Regions from separate parts of the Homo sapiens genome. Here all the other regions are linked to region 1. The links are contacts of gene promoters, found by promoter capture Hi-C in blood cells and fetal thymus (Javierre and others, 2016). All regions are on one chromosome and are shown on one strand. Each heading gives the region's core, a stretch centred on a gene start or on the middle of the fragment in contact. The rest is flanking DNA. Distances are from core to core; before and after follow the strand shown.

What was found. Contacts are between HindIII fragments. The CHiCAGO score rates a contact against its expected background, and 5 or more counts as called.
Region 2: a fragment that was not itself captured here is called in contact with the fragment with the promoter of OR52K1 in region 1 in 2 of 17 cell types (M1 macrophages and M0 macrophages); the score reaches 5.6 in M1 macrophages.
Region 3: a contact is called between a fragment that was not itself captured here and the fragment with the promoter of OR52K1 in region 1, in 11 of 17 cell types (M2 macrophages, total CD8 T cells, non-activated CD4 T cells and 8 more). The highest score is 9.6, in M2 macrophages.

The regions. Positions count from the first base shown.
Region 1 is chr11:4,480,655-4,484,962 of GRCh38, forward strand. OR52K1 (olfactory receptor family 52 subfamily K member 1) reads left to right here and starts at 1,992. Exons shown (of 2, transcript NM_001005171.3): 1 at 1,992-2,522. The HindIII fragment of the contact is 19,878 bases long and covers 1-4,308 here.
Region 2 is chr11:4,132,347-4,136,654 of GRCh38, forward strand. RRM1 (ribonucleotide reductase catalytic subunit M1) reads left to right here. Exons shown (of 19, transcript NM_001033.5): 16 at 1-75; 17 at 1,217-1,312; 18 at 2,736-2,924. Among named protein-coding and RNA genes, the nearest start is that of RRM1, 40 kb to the left of the region's middle. The HindIII fragment of the contact is 635 bases long and covers 2,022-2,656 here.
Region 3 is chr11:4,198,665-4,202,972 of GRCh38, forward strand. LINC02749 (long intergenic non-protein coding RNA 2749) reads left to right here. Exons shown (of 2, transcript NR_047550.1): 2 at 3,595-3,989. Among named protein-coding and RNA genes, the nearest start is that of LINC02749, 14 kb to the left of the region's middle. The HindIII fragment of the contact is 821 bases long and covers 1,438-2,258 here.

The sequences.
Region 1 (4,308 bases), core at 742-3,241:
AAAGCGTATGGCCCCGCCCCCATTCCCTTTTTCCTGCTCCGCTGTGGTAAGACCTGCTTGCTTCCCCTTCATCTTCTGCCATGACTAAGTTTCCTGAGGCCTCCCAGCCATGCTTCTGTACAGCCTGCAGGAACTGTGAGTCAGTCAAACCTCTTTTCTCCATAAAAGTACCCAGTCTCAGGTAGTTCTTCATAGCAGTGTGAGAACAGACTGATACAAAGGCCTACAATGTTCTGTGTGATCACAGCTAACTGGAAAAAAAAAAAAAGAAAGCAGCACCCAGGTATGGGTAGGGCACATTATATTCACAGGATCAACAATAAGACTGATATTAATAGATACTTGACTTCAAAAAAAGCAAGTGAAGGCAGAATACAATTAATATACTAAAGTGGATGAAAGAAGAATTGCCCATTTAAAAACCTATTCAAATTGAAATAGAATTTTAGACAGAGGCCCGGGAGGTGAGTCATCTTTCACAAACAAAGATGACTAAGATAATTTTACAAATGAGCAAAAGTTGATGGAATGTGTCACTATATGGCCTGTAATAAAAGCAAAAATAAAAGTAGTTTTTCATGCAGAAAAAAAATGATCCAGATGGAAACATGAAAAACCTGGAGGGAATGAAGAACACCAAAACAAAGATGCATATGAATGTAAAAGAATCTAGATTTTACAAAAGAAAAGATAGGGTGGGGAGGATGTCAATGAATTAAACAGTCTAAGTGTTCCAATATTCCAGCAGTTATCTCCAGCATGGTTTGAGCCAATGGCCCCACTGCCCACTCCCCCACTCCATGTGCTTCTTATCCTGCTCCTATGATGTCAGGATTGCCCATTCAGAATGGAGTTGGGGGCAAATTAAGGTGCTTTGTTCACAAAAACACTGTCTATTCTATCTGGCTCTTGTCTGGCTTTTATCTGGCTTTTGCCATATTAGGTTTTGGTGAGGTGCTTTTCATACAGGCTGTATCCCCTTGGCCTAGCTGTACATTGTTAAAACTATGTAGGAATTCCACTTTATCCCAGCATCCCAAAAGATCAGACTTATCATGGAGGAGTGCTGAGTCCACACCCTTGAGGGCCAACTATTACAGAAGGGGAAGTTAGTTCCAGGGTACCTGTGTGGGAAGGGAGTGAGATGACTGAGTTACAGCGTTCTGAGATTGCTTTTAAAAATTATGGGGAATTAGGGTAGACAAAATCCATGGAGAACTCTAGTGAAAAGCATCTTCTCAGGTCCTTGAAAAATAGCACACATTAAGTCAGCTGTAGGTAGAAAGATCACTCTTTATCATTTATAGATGATTGGTAATTTCCTAATTATTAATAAGGAATCACATTCATAGTGGCCTCTTGTTTATCTACTTAGATCCTCCTATCCTTGTGAGTTAGAAAATATTGTAAAAGTTATCTCTACCTTAGAGATAAGAAAAATAGATCAGGGATCAGACAGGTGCCAGATCAAGTTCACGAGCTGGTTATTAATGCATATCTCAGGCCAATATGAAATATGAATGCAAAATAAAATGCCTAATGGATGACCTTGGCCTGGTCAGGCTGGACTCCCTGCCCTTTCAAGTCAGTTCTGACAGGAGTTGCCTGCAGTGTATATTTTCTGATGAGGCTGGCTTTCTTTGAAGACACTGTAAGGATAAAGAGTAAGGAGAGGCACAGCAAACACCAAGACACAAGCCAGCTCCACCTGAAAGTCTCACAGCCTCTGGCAAGTAGGGCATGACCCCTGGTAGGCACAACTCAGTGCCACTAGCTGGGGAGGAGGCATGGGTTGTAGGAAACAAGGATACAGTCCCCTTGGGTCAGGGGAAGTCCCCTTGCATCAACCCAGAGAGAGGAGGCCAGAGATGTCTCTGAGGACTCTGCTCAAGTGCAGCAGTTTCTGCTTCCACAGCCTTCTGGGAGAAGGGCAGAGGTTGGTGAGGATTAAAGCCAGCTGCTCGCTTCCCAGCTTCCTCCTTCTAAGACTCCTTAGACTGAAAGAGGAAGGCGGCACTGGTGCTGCATGAAGCTAATGAAAAGGGCCCAGGATTGTAAGTCAGACTGAGGACTGTGGATACAGCTGCAACTTAGGGAAATAGAAAACAAGTGATGTTATTGGGGTGAGCAGGAAGGTGGGAGTGAGCTGGAAGGTGGGGGCACTGTCAATTTCTTCCCATAGCCATTCCTGATCTTAGGCATCAGCTCTCCAACCCTGTTATTGCTTCTACTCTGGTCCTTCAATAGAGGGAACAGAAGTCTCGATAGTCCCACCCAACTGTTTGGTACACAAACTCCAGATGCTCTCCCCACCACAGAGGATGCCTGCTTCCGTCCTATGCCAAACACTGTGGGCCATCTCCAAGAAGTCTTAGTTGATTATTCCAGTTTGGATCTGTCACTTCTCACCTCCTGTCATTGCTTTTTCTAACCCCTGGCAAATGCCCCATCCCAGTTAAAGGGCTTCTGCATTAGTCAAGAGGAAGAAAACGAGGCCTGAACTAGAAAGATGGCAGGGAAAGGTAAGAAATACCTTATCTTTGAGGTTCTTCTACCAGAAGCAGTCCTGAAGTATCTTGATTATGTGATTATCCTTCCTTGTCTGGTTCTAAGTTTTTCAGATATGTCATTCTGATATCCTTTTAAGATAAAGGTATAGGCAACCAAATAGATTCAGTATTAATTGAGTCCATTCTGGGTACAGAGGCCTTTTTTAAGGAGAAATAGAAGATAAATCCTTTGAGCATGGACATCTTAGTTCTGAAAACAATGAACAGTCTGGACAAAACTTGCACTACAGAGGAGGTCTTAGTTTCTGGATATTAGGGGAAGAAGACTGGCTCCATTCACACTCCTACTCAGAGCACTTCATTCTGAGGAGTTGATTTTAGATGAACTTCAAAGGAAGTAAGATTTATGAACTATTAGACACCCTGTCTTTTCAGGAAGAAATCTGATAGAAGAGATGCCTTTTTTTCTTGTATGAAGATGGGTAGACAGCTCACAGGGTGGTTAGTGATGTTTAAAAGTTGAATGGAGGAATCTAGGGGGACATGGAGACTCAAAGTAAAACATGTGGGTTTTGTGGAAAATACATATTGAGATAAGGTAAAGATGCAGCAGGTTTGTGGGATTATTTCACAGTATTTTAGAAGAGTTTCTTAGACGCCAGGCATGTTTCTAGGTACTGATATGTACTTGAAAATAAAAATGTCTGTTGTCATAAGAGCTTGTTCCTGACAAAAATGCACAAACATTATGAATATTTAAAATAGTATTTTCCATTAAGAAGAGAATTTTATTCTGATGCAGGTAACAAAGTATTGTAATCGGGATGCTTAGAACCTCCATTCTGGATGCATTTTAAATGAGAAGATAACCCAAATTCTGAGCTTAAATCACATGAGGGGAGTAGTATTCTGAGAAATATGTCTTCCAATAATCTAGTAGTCTGTTTTATTTAGTGAAATGTTCCACACCTATGTATGTTAGAGGCTGGGTTTACAGAAGGAAAATAGGTAGAGTTTCTTAACTCCAGTCCCTTCACTTCATGATATGGTGGGTAATTGTTGAAGGATAAATATTGGAGAACAAAGTGGAACTTTGTGTACTTGTTAGGATTCTTTTGTAGCAGTAGTTGCTGGGAGATGCTGTGGCTTGAACAAGGGTGATGGTGTTGGAAGGGTGGAAGTGTTGGAAACGCAATGGGCAACGTGGAGATTTACTATGTAGGATGATCCAGTGTGCTTGCTGATGATTAAATATGATGCAGGAAGAAAAGAGAAGAATCCAGGATGACTTGATTCTAGGTTGAGCAACTGGTTGGGCAGGATGTTACGTTCTGAGATATGGGCAGCACAAGAAGAGAAGTAGTCATGATTTCTGCCTCAGGCATGGCAGGTTTGACATATCTGTGAGGAAGATATGTGGGGATATCGAGTATGGAGTTGGATATCCTAGTCTGGAGCTTACAAGGAATGTAAGGTATGTAAATTTGTGTTTGTTTCAGGATATGTTTATATTCTCAATGATCAACCAGCAGACCACCTAGAAAGATGCAATATTCACGGTCTTTTCAGGAGCAGTATTCTCTTTCTTCGTCTAAGTTTCAACTTTTCCCCTACTACTGGATAATTTGCTTCAGCTAAAGACATGATACTTCTGTTCTAAAACACACAGACACACACACACACACACACACACACACACACACACAGTTGACTTCGCTTTCCATTTTAGCCAGTGCCCTATTTACTTGCTGTCCTTTGCTTCCAAATTCCTCAAAAAAGTTAGCCATGTTAACAAACT
Region 2 (4,308 bases), core at 1,089-3,588, 350 kb before region 1:
CTGGGGAATAATGAGTCCATTGAACCTTACACCAGCAACATCTATACTCGCAGAGTCTTGTCAGGAGAATTTCAGGTGAGCAGTTCACAACCAGCCTTACAGGGAGATCTTTCAAAAGCCTGATGTTGGGAGTAAATGCTCACTCATGTTTAATTTGCCCATTTTCTTAGTTTGGGTGCAAACTTTGATAAAGACAGTCATCTTCATCTCTAATATTATTATTTGTTATTAATATTTCAGCACAATAGGCATTTAATAAATAATCTGTTGAAAGAATGAGTGAATGAGGGTCGAGTATGAAAGTAAGTTGTTGATAGTTAAACATGATGTTTAACCATTATGTAATCATAGTGATATATTCTATAACTTCTCCCAGATGCTTAAGTTAGGATACTCAAAATGTATAAAGAAGTATCATTTAAGGCAGTGGTTCTCAGACTTGGTTACCAATTAGAATTTATGGTGGGTGAGACCAGTGGTTTTTTCTTTGTTTTTAAGGTTCCCAGGTAATTCTTATGTGTAGCTAGGGTTGAGAACCTCAATTTAAAAGACTATTTGTGAATTTCCAGATATCTTGAAGTAAAGTTCTGTAAAGTTCGAGAAGGATACGTTTCCAATTTTTTTAACCTAAGTATTTATAGATTTACCCATCTTAGGCGCTATTCTTTTCACTTTTGCAAACGCCATATGTTTCTTTTTTAATGAAAATATTTTTTCAGCTTTATTAAGGTATAATTGACAATAAAAATTGTGTATAAAACCAAGGTATACAGTGTAATGATTAGATATGTGTATATATTATATAACGATTACCACACCACAATGTTTTTGTTGTCGATACTGTTTTTGAGAAAATGTCTCACTTTGTCACCCAGGCTGGAGTGCAGTGGCATGATCTTGGCTCACTGCAGCCTCTGCCTCCTGGGTTCAAGCAATTCTCATGCCTCAGCCTCCTGAGTAGCTGGGATTACAGGCATGCTGCGCCACCATGCCTGGCTAATTATATTGTTTCTTGAATAACAGATGTCAAGATCTTAAAGGAATATAGCTTTCGTGTGGTGGCATTGATGTCTCGTCTTTATAAAAGATAGAATTTACCAAGCAATCTAGCATTAAATAACTCTTAAGTGATTTTAGTTTAAGCTTCAAAGCTGTAGTCTTTTCTAAGCAGTCACTGTTATTTATTTCTTCATACATTTTCTGCTTTTCCATTCAGATTGTAAATCCTCACTTATTGAAAGATCTTACCGAGCGGGGCCTATGGCATGAAGAGATGAAAAACCAGATTATTGCATGCAATGGCTCTATTCAGGTATAGAATGAAAATGAAGTGTGCTCTGCAGGGGCTGAGTTGGACATTGTGGTACCTCCTCACTCATGCTAGACAATGGAGAGAATGACTTCATTGTGTTCATCTAGGTTTTGCTTGTGTAGCTCTGTTCACCTCTGCATTGTTGTGCTAGGATTGTACACATCTTTACATAACCCTTACCATCTTGTTTTTATGCAATAATATAAAAAAGTAGTTCTCAATTTTTCTGCATCTTAGAATCAACTGGGGAGCTTTTAAAATCCTGAAGCTTAGGTTGCATTCCTTACCAATTAAATGTCTAGGAACAGGAACCAGACATCAATTTTTTTTTTTTTTTTTTTTTTTTGAGACGAAGTCTCTGTCGCCCAGGCTGGAGTGCAGTGGTGGAATCATGGCTCACTGCAACCTCTGCCTCCTAGGTTCAAGCGATTCTCCTGCCTCAGCCTCCCAAGTAGCTGGGATTACAGGTGCCTGCCACCACGCCCGGCTGTTTTTTGTATTTTTAGTAGAGACAGGGTTTCACCATATTGGCCAGGCTCCTGACCTCAGGTGATCCGCCTGCCTTGGCCTCCCAGGGTGCTAGGATTACATGCATGAGCCACCGTGCCTGGCCTCAGACATCAATAATTTTTAAAGATTCTTTTGGTGATTCCAAAGTATATCAAAATTTGGGGGATCATAGATAGAAAGACTGAAATTAAGAGAGTCAAGCTTAATTAAAAATCATGGTTGACGACTGATAGTCCAAAAGACAGAGTCACAAATCGTGTAAATATTTGCAACTAAGAGTCAAGAGGCATTTATTTGCAGATAGAGGTGTCTGGCTAAATGTTGGTCTGCTTAGCAACACAGATGAAGAGTCCTATAACAGTTCCATATTTAATGACAGAAACTGTAGCATTAGCCAGTCTGTGTGTTTTAATGAAAGTTAACCCTAGGCCTAAGAAAACCTGATTTTGGATTCCAAAGGGAGTTTGAAATCCTAGCTTATTTAAAGGGTTTTATCTCATTGCTTCCCTTGGTCCCTGTGAATTACAGCCCTTATTTTTTGTGTTTTCTGCAAAACTCAAGGGTCATTTATTGCTGCTTAGCTCTGACTTTTCCTTTCTTTAAGTGCCTCTAGAAGAATGAATGTTTGGGTCATAAATCAATTAAAAAATTAAAAAATTGGTTTATGACCAACAAAAAAGGGATGCTGAAATTACTATCACCAGATTGATATTTGGTTGGTTAGATGGGGGTTTTGTTCAACTTTCTAAATAGTCTTGGTAAACTTGATAAGGATCATATCATATGATACTGAATGGTAAGGTCAGATCTGGCAGGAAGTAAAATGAAGATCAAAGCTTGTGTCACTATTCTATTAATCATACACTGCTTTCTTTAACTGGAGTAAAGTAAACATTGGGTTTTCCTTCTTTAGAGCATACCAGAAATTCCTGATGACCTGAAGCAACTTTATAAAACTGTGTGGGAAATCTCTCAGAAAACTGTTCTCAAGATGGCAGCTGAGAGAGGTGCTTTCATTGATCAAAGCCAATCTTTGAACATCCACATTGCTGAGCCTAACTATGGCAAACTCACTAGTATGCACTTCTACGGCTGGAAGCAGGTTGGTAGAGAATATCAAGGAGTACTTAATTGCCAGCTTGAGATATTTTGGCATTGGAATGATTTTATGTTTTAGCCACCTATTAAATATTATCACCTAGAAGTTCTTTAAGTTCAAATCCAGAACGTTAAAACCAACCCATGGTTTTTGTACCAGAACAGGGTCTTGCCTTGGATTTTCTTGTTTCTGTTAGGTTTATTTCCTTCTTAGGTTTGAAACCTTGTAGTTACCTGTGATGCTTTCCTTCCTTTACTGTCCGTACAATTACCAAGTTGTGTTGATTGTTCCTTTGTATTATTTCTTAAATATCTTCCTTCCTTTTCTGCTGCTGTTATTCTAAACTGACCTTATTGCTTCTAGGATCTCTGCTCCCAGCCATTTTGTGTGCATTACCACCATTCCTCAGATAAAACTTTGCACACGTCAACCCGCTATTCAAAAACATCCATTGTTTTCTCACTTTATAAAGTGAAAGCCAGCTTACTTAGCTAGTCGTTGCCAGCTGTAAAGTCTGGTGATTTTGGATTATGTTCTTATTCCCTGATAATGTATTGGGTATTTAAGTAGAATTATAAATTTGTTTTTTAATTTAACATTTATTGAACATCTAGTATGTGCCAGGACTGAGGATACTGAATAGAAGATGATGATCTTTATCTTTGAAGTCTTATAGTCTGTTGTTACACAGAGACACAGTCTAGCTCTCTAAACAGTTATAACCTAAGGCAGACATATTGTCTTGGGCAAACCTGGAAGTCATATGCATAAAAACAAAGACAAAAGAATAAAAATGTTTGACCTTTCCAAAGAGATAAGCCTGTTTTAGGAGTGAAAAGAACAGGATATTTCTGTCTGACTCACAAAGCATTTTTGAGAGTACTCCTAGAGGAGATAGAATTCCAAGTTTAAAAAAAGTTTGATCTGGTTCATGGGAATGTATTTTATTTTATGTATGTATGTATGTATTTTGAGACAGAGACTCACTCTGTTGCCCCGGCTGGAGTACAGCGGCATGATCTTGGCTCACTGCAACCTCTGTCCTGGGTTCAAGTGATTCTCATGTCTTAGCCTCCTGAGTAGCTAGGATCACAGGTGTGTGCCAACACACCTGGCTAATTTTTGTATTTTTATTAGAGATGGGGTTTTGCCATGTTGGCCAGGCTGGTCTCAAACTCCTGGCCTCAAGCAATTCACCTGCCTCGGCCTCCCAAAGTGCTCGAATTACAGGTGTGAGCCACTGTGCCTGGCCAGGAATGTATTTTATTTTATTTTAATATTATTGTTTTATTTTATTTTATACTTTTTTAGACGGAGTCTCGCTCTGTTGCCCAGGCTGGAGTGCAATGATACAGTCTTGGCTCACTGCAACCTCAGCCTCCTGAGT
Region 3 (4,308 bases), core at 598-3,097, 280 kb before region 1:
GAGTTTCCACCAAACTGAATGGTTCCCCATAGTGAACACTGTTTTACTGAGAGAAAACAGTCAGCGCTTCTTGGTTATCCACCTCCCTAAGAGTTATAATAGCGATAGAAAAATATGAGAAAACTTCAACTTCAGTAGATTTAGTTCTGACGCCTCCGCTAAACTTAGTGGTTCCCCATGCTCTGCGGACGCTTATATTCACAGAATATCCTCACCACTTTTTGCTAGTTGCCTACCCTCTGTGACATATCGTTGCCTCCCCCTTCGCATATCACTGTCCAGTGTGGCAATACTCTACACACAGCCACCTCCTTCTTTTAAAGGAGGTGGCTTTACCTCTGTTAAGGGACTATCATGCTCTTTCAGATCTTTTTTTAAATTTTTATTTTTTAACCTTTTAAAAATTTCAATAGTTTTTGGGGAACAGGTGATTTTTGGTTACATGGATAAGTTCTTCAGTGATAATTACTGAGATGCAGCCATCACCTGAGCAGTGTACATTGTACCCAATGTGTAGTCTTTTATCCCTCGTCCCCCTCCCAACTTCCCCCTTGTCTCCACCGTCCCTTTTATCATTCTTACACTTTTGCGTCCTTGTAGCTTAGCTCTCACTTATAAATGAGAACTACAATATTTGGTTTTCCATTCCTGAATTTCTTCACTTAGAATAATGGTCTCCAATTCCATACAAGTTGCTGCAAATGCCATTATTTTGTTCCTTTTAATGGTTGAGTAGTATTTCACTATATATATATATATATATCTCACATATATATCACATATATATGTGTATATAAATGTGATATATATATGTATACACACACTACATTTTTAAAATCCACTTTTTGGTTGATGGGCATTTAGGCTGGCCCCATATTTTTGCAATTGCAAATTGTTTTGCTATAAACATATGTGCAAGTGTCTTTTTCATATAATGAACTCTTTTCCTCTGGGTAGATACTCAATAGTGGGATTGCTGGATCAAATGGTAGTTGTACTGTTAGTTCTTTGAGGAATCTCCATACTGTTTTCCATACTGGTTGTACTAGTTTACATTCCCACCAGCAGTGTAGAAGTGTTCCCTGTTCACTGTATCCACACTAACATCTACGGTTTTTTTGATTTTTTTATTATGGCCATTCTTGCAGGAGTAAGGGGGTATCTCATTGTGGTTTTAATTTGCAGTTCCCTGATGATTAGTGATGTTGAGCAGTTTTCATATGTTTGTTGGCCATTTGTACATCTTCTTTTGAGAATTGTCTATTCATGTCCTTTGCCCACTTTTTGATGGGATTATTTTTTTTTTCTTGCTGATTTGTTTGAATTCCTTGTCGATTCTGGATATTAGTCCTTTGTATGATGCATAGTTTGCAAATACTTTCTCCCGTCCTGTGGGTTGTCTGTTTACTCTGCTGATTATTTCTTTTGCTGTGCAGAAGCTTTTTAGTTTAATTAGGTCCCATCTATTTTTGTTTTTATTGCACTTGCTTTTGGGTTCTTGTTCATGAACTCTTTGCCTAAGCCAATGTCTAGAAGAGTTTTACTGATGTTATCTTTTATAATTTTTATAGTTCCAAGTCTTAGATTTAAGTCTCTGATCCATCTTGAGTTGATTTTTGTATAAGGTGAGAGATGAGGATCCAGTTTCTTTCTTCTAGATGGTGTCCTTTTCCCACTTTATGTTTTTGTTTACTTTGTCAAGGATCAGTTGGCTTTAAGTATTTGAGTTTATTTCTGCGTTCTCTATTCTGTTCCATTGGTCTACATGCCAATTTTTATACCAGTGCCATGCTGTTTTGGTAACTATAGCTTTATAGTAGAATTTGAAGTTGGGTAATATGCCTGCAGATTTATTCTTTTTGCTTAGTCTTGCTTTGGCTATGTGGTGTCTTTTTTTGTTCCATATTAATTTTAGGATTATTTTTTCTAGTTCTGTGAAGAATGATGATGGTACTTTGATGGGAATTGCATTGAATCTGTAGATCCCTTTTGGCAGTATGGTCATTTTCACTATATTGATTCCACCCACCCATGATCTTGGGATGTGTTTCCATTTGTTTGTGTTGTCAATGATTTCTTTCAGCAGTGTTTTGTAGTTTTCCTTTTAGAGATTTTTCACCTCCTTGGTTAGGTATATTCCCAAGTATTTTATTTTTTGGACACCCCTCATTTAATTGTTTGTAGATGGTTCATACCTAAAAAGAAAAACTACAAGTTGCCAATTATGTTATACTATCACAGACTTGAATTTACCTTTAAGCTTCTCAAAGAAATGAAATCTGTTCAGATGGCTAAATTGCCTTTGTCCAGACATGCCAGCCAACAAAAGATAAAAAACAAATACTTGTCCTGATGGTGGGTATGATTTTGGGTTGGCCCATGATTTTGAAATGCTTTAAAAAAAAAGGACATTTTCTGACTGTTACAGGAATCCTTATAAAATGGATAGCAAATTAAGGAACCCTGAGAAGTTTTCCATTACCTAAAGAAATGGCCATGATAAATGTAGAATTTAGCAAAAGTGCTTCATGATATTACCCATAATACAAGAGATAAATCTGCCATGATTTTTATTTTATTTTTTATTTTTTGACTTTTATTTTAAGTTCAGGGGTATATGTATAGGTTTGCTACATAGGTCAACTCATGCCACAGGGGTTGTTGTACAGATTATTTTGTCACCCAGGTATTAAGCCTGGTATCCATTAGTTATTTTGTCTTATCCTCACCCTCCTCCCACCCTGCACTTTCTGGCGGGCCTCAGTGTCTGTTGTTCCCCTCTCTGTGTCCATGTGTTCTTATAATTTAGCTCCCATTTACAAGTGAGAACATGTGGTATTTGGTTTTCTGTTCCTGTGTTAGTTTGCTAAGGATAATGGCCTCCAGCTCCATCCGTGTTCCTGCAAAGGACATGACCTTGTTCTTTTTTATTTGTCATGATATTGAACCAACATTGATGGGGGTAATTTTAGGAGGTTTCATAGACATTTCCAAAATATGTCCAACCTGACAATGACACAATCCTGGCAAGATTTTAAGGATAGGTCATGGACAGGAACCGAAGTCTCACTGCCCCTTTGAACGTCTCCAAATGTGCTGAGTGCATTCTGATTATTGTTGTTTATTCTTAGGGTTAGTTGATGTTTTACCTTACTGGAGAGTGGTAGCTATAGTGGTAGGAACAAATTTGCTTAATTTTGTTGTATTTCTGACTTGGAAAATCCCAACTTATTTTGCAGTTAAGAGGAACACACATATCACTGGTACTGTTGTTACTGAACCCTGCAATGCTTTACTTTTTACTCAGAATCTCTACTGACCTTTATCATCCACAAAATTCAGGGAAAAGATAGAACTAAAATTCTAAAAGTATAATTATCAGAGCTCTCAAAACCCTCACACTCCTAAGGCTTGAGGAGTGCTATTGGTGTTGATGGAAGTAAGACCAATTTTCAGGACCTACAGGTGGCCACCTTTGGAATTCATAACAGGCTTCCTCACTACTTGCAATCCTAGATTCTACATTATGAGTACAAGCTGATATGATTCATTGCTGAAGGGTACTCACAATAACTCCAGCTTTATCACCAACAGGTAAACGCTGCATTTCTACAACAGCCACCTGTGCAGGCCCTGCATGCTCTGTAACCTGGGGATTTGGTCTTCTGAAAAGGGCACCAGAGAAAAACTGCTCTTAAGCCTCTGTTAACTGACACAGCAGTAGAACTCCAAGGTGTTGATCCTTGGATTCATGTTTCTCAACTTCAGAGACACACATCACTCCTTCCTGACCACTGGGCATCCATCCCACCAGGAGCTCCTAATCTGAGAGCTGTTAGAAATCCTCCAAAAGTGCTGACTGCAGAAGTTGGTAGCTTCTGCTCAAGATGACAGAACAAGATTAACTTTTGTATTCTTCAGCACCTTTTTTATTTTCCATTATCACACTTTGATACCCTCTAAAACATTAAAACACCTTCTAGAATGCTTATGTGATCAACTTGATCTTTGTCTTATTAATTTTGACCTCTGTCATCTCCTTCTACCACTTAAGAAAAAACCAAAACTCCCTTGTGCATCTTTTTCAAACCACAGCTACTGCCCTGAATTTAACTAATTACTGACAAAATCTAGTAAGTATCACTTCAGACACTTCAGAAGGAAGTACAGGCCCTTTCTAGTACTTAAGTTTGCCTTACACCACAAATCCCAACCTTCAGTCCTGTAAAAACTGGAGCTTGATGTCACATCAATGGAATGCTTCTGACAATGTCATCACAATCCTTTCAGCACAACCTGGGTGTCATG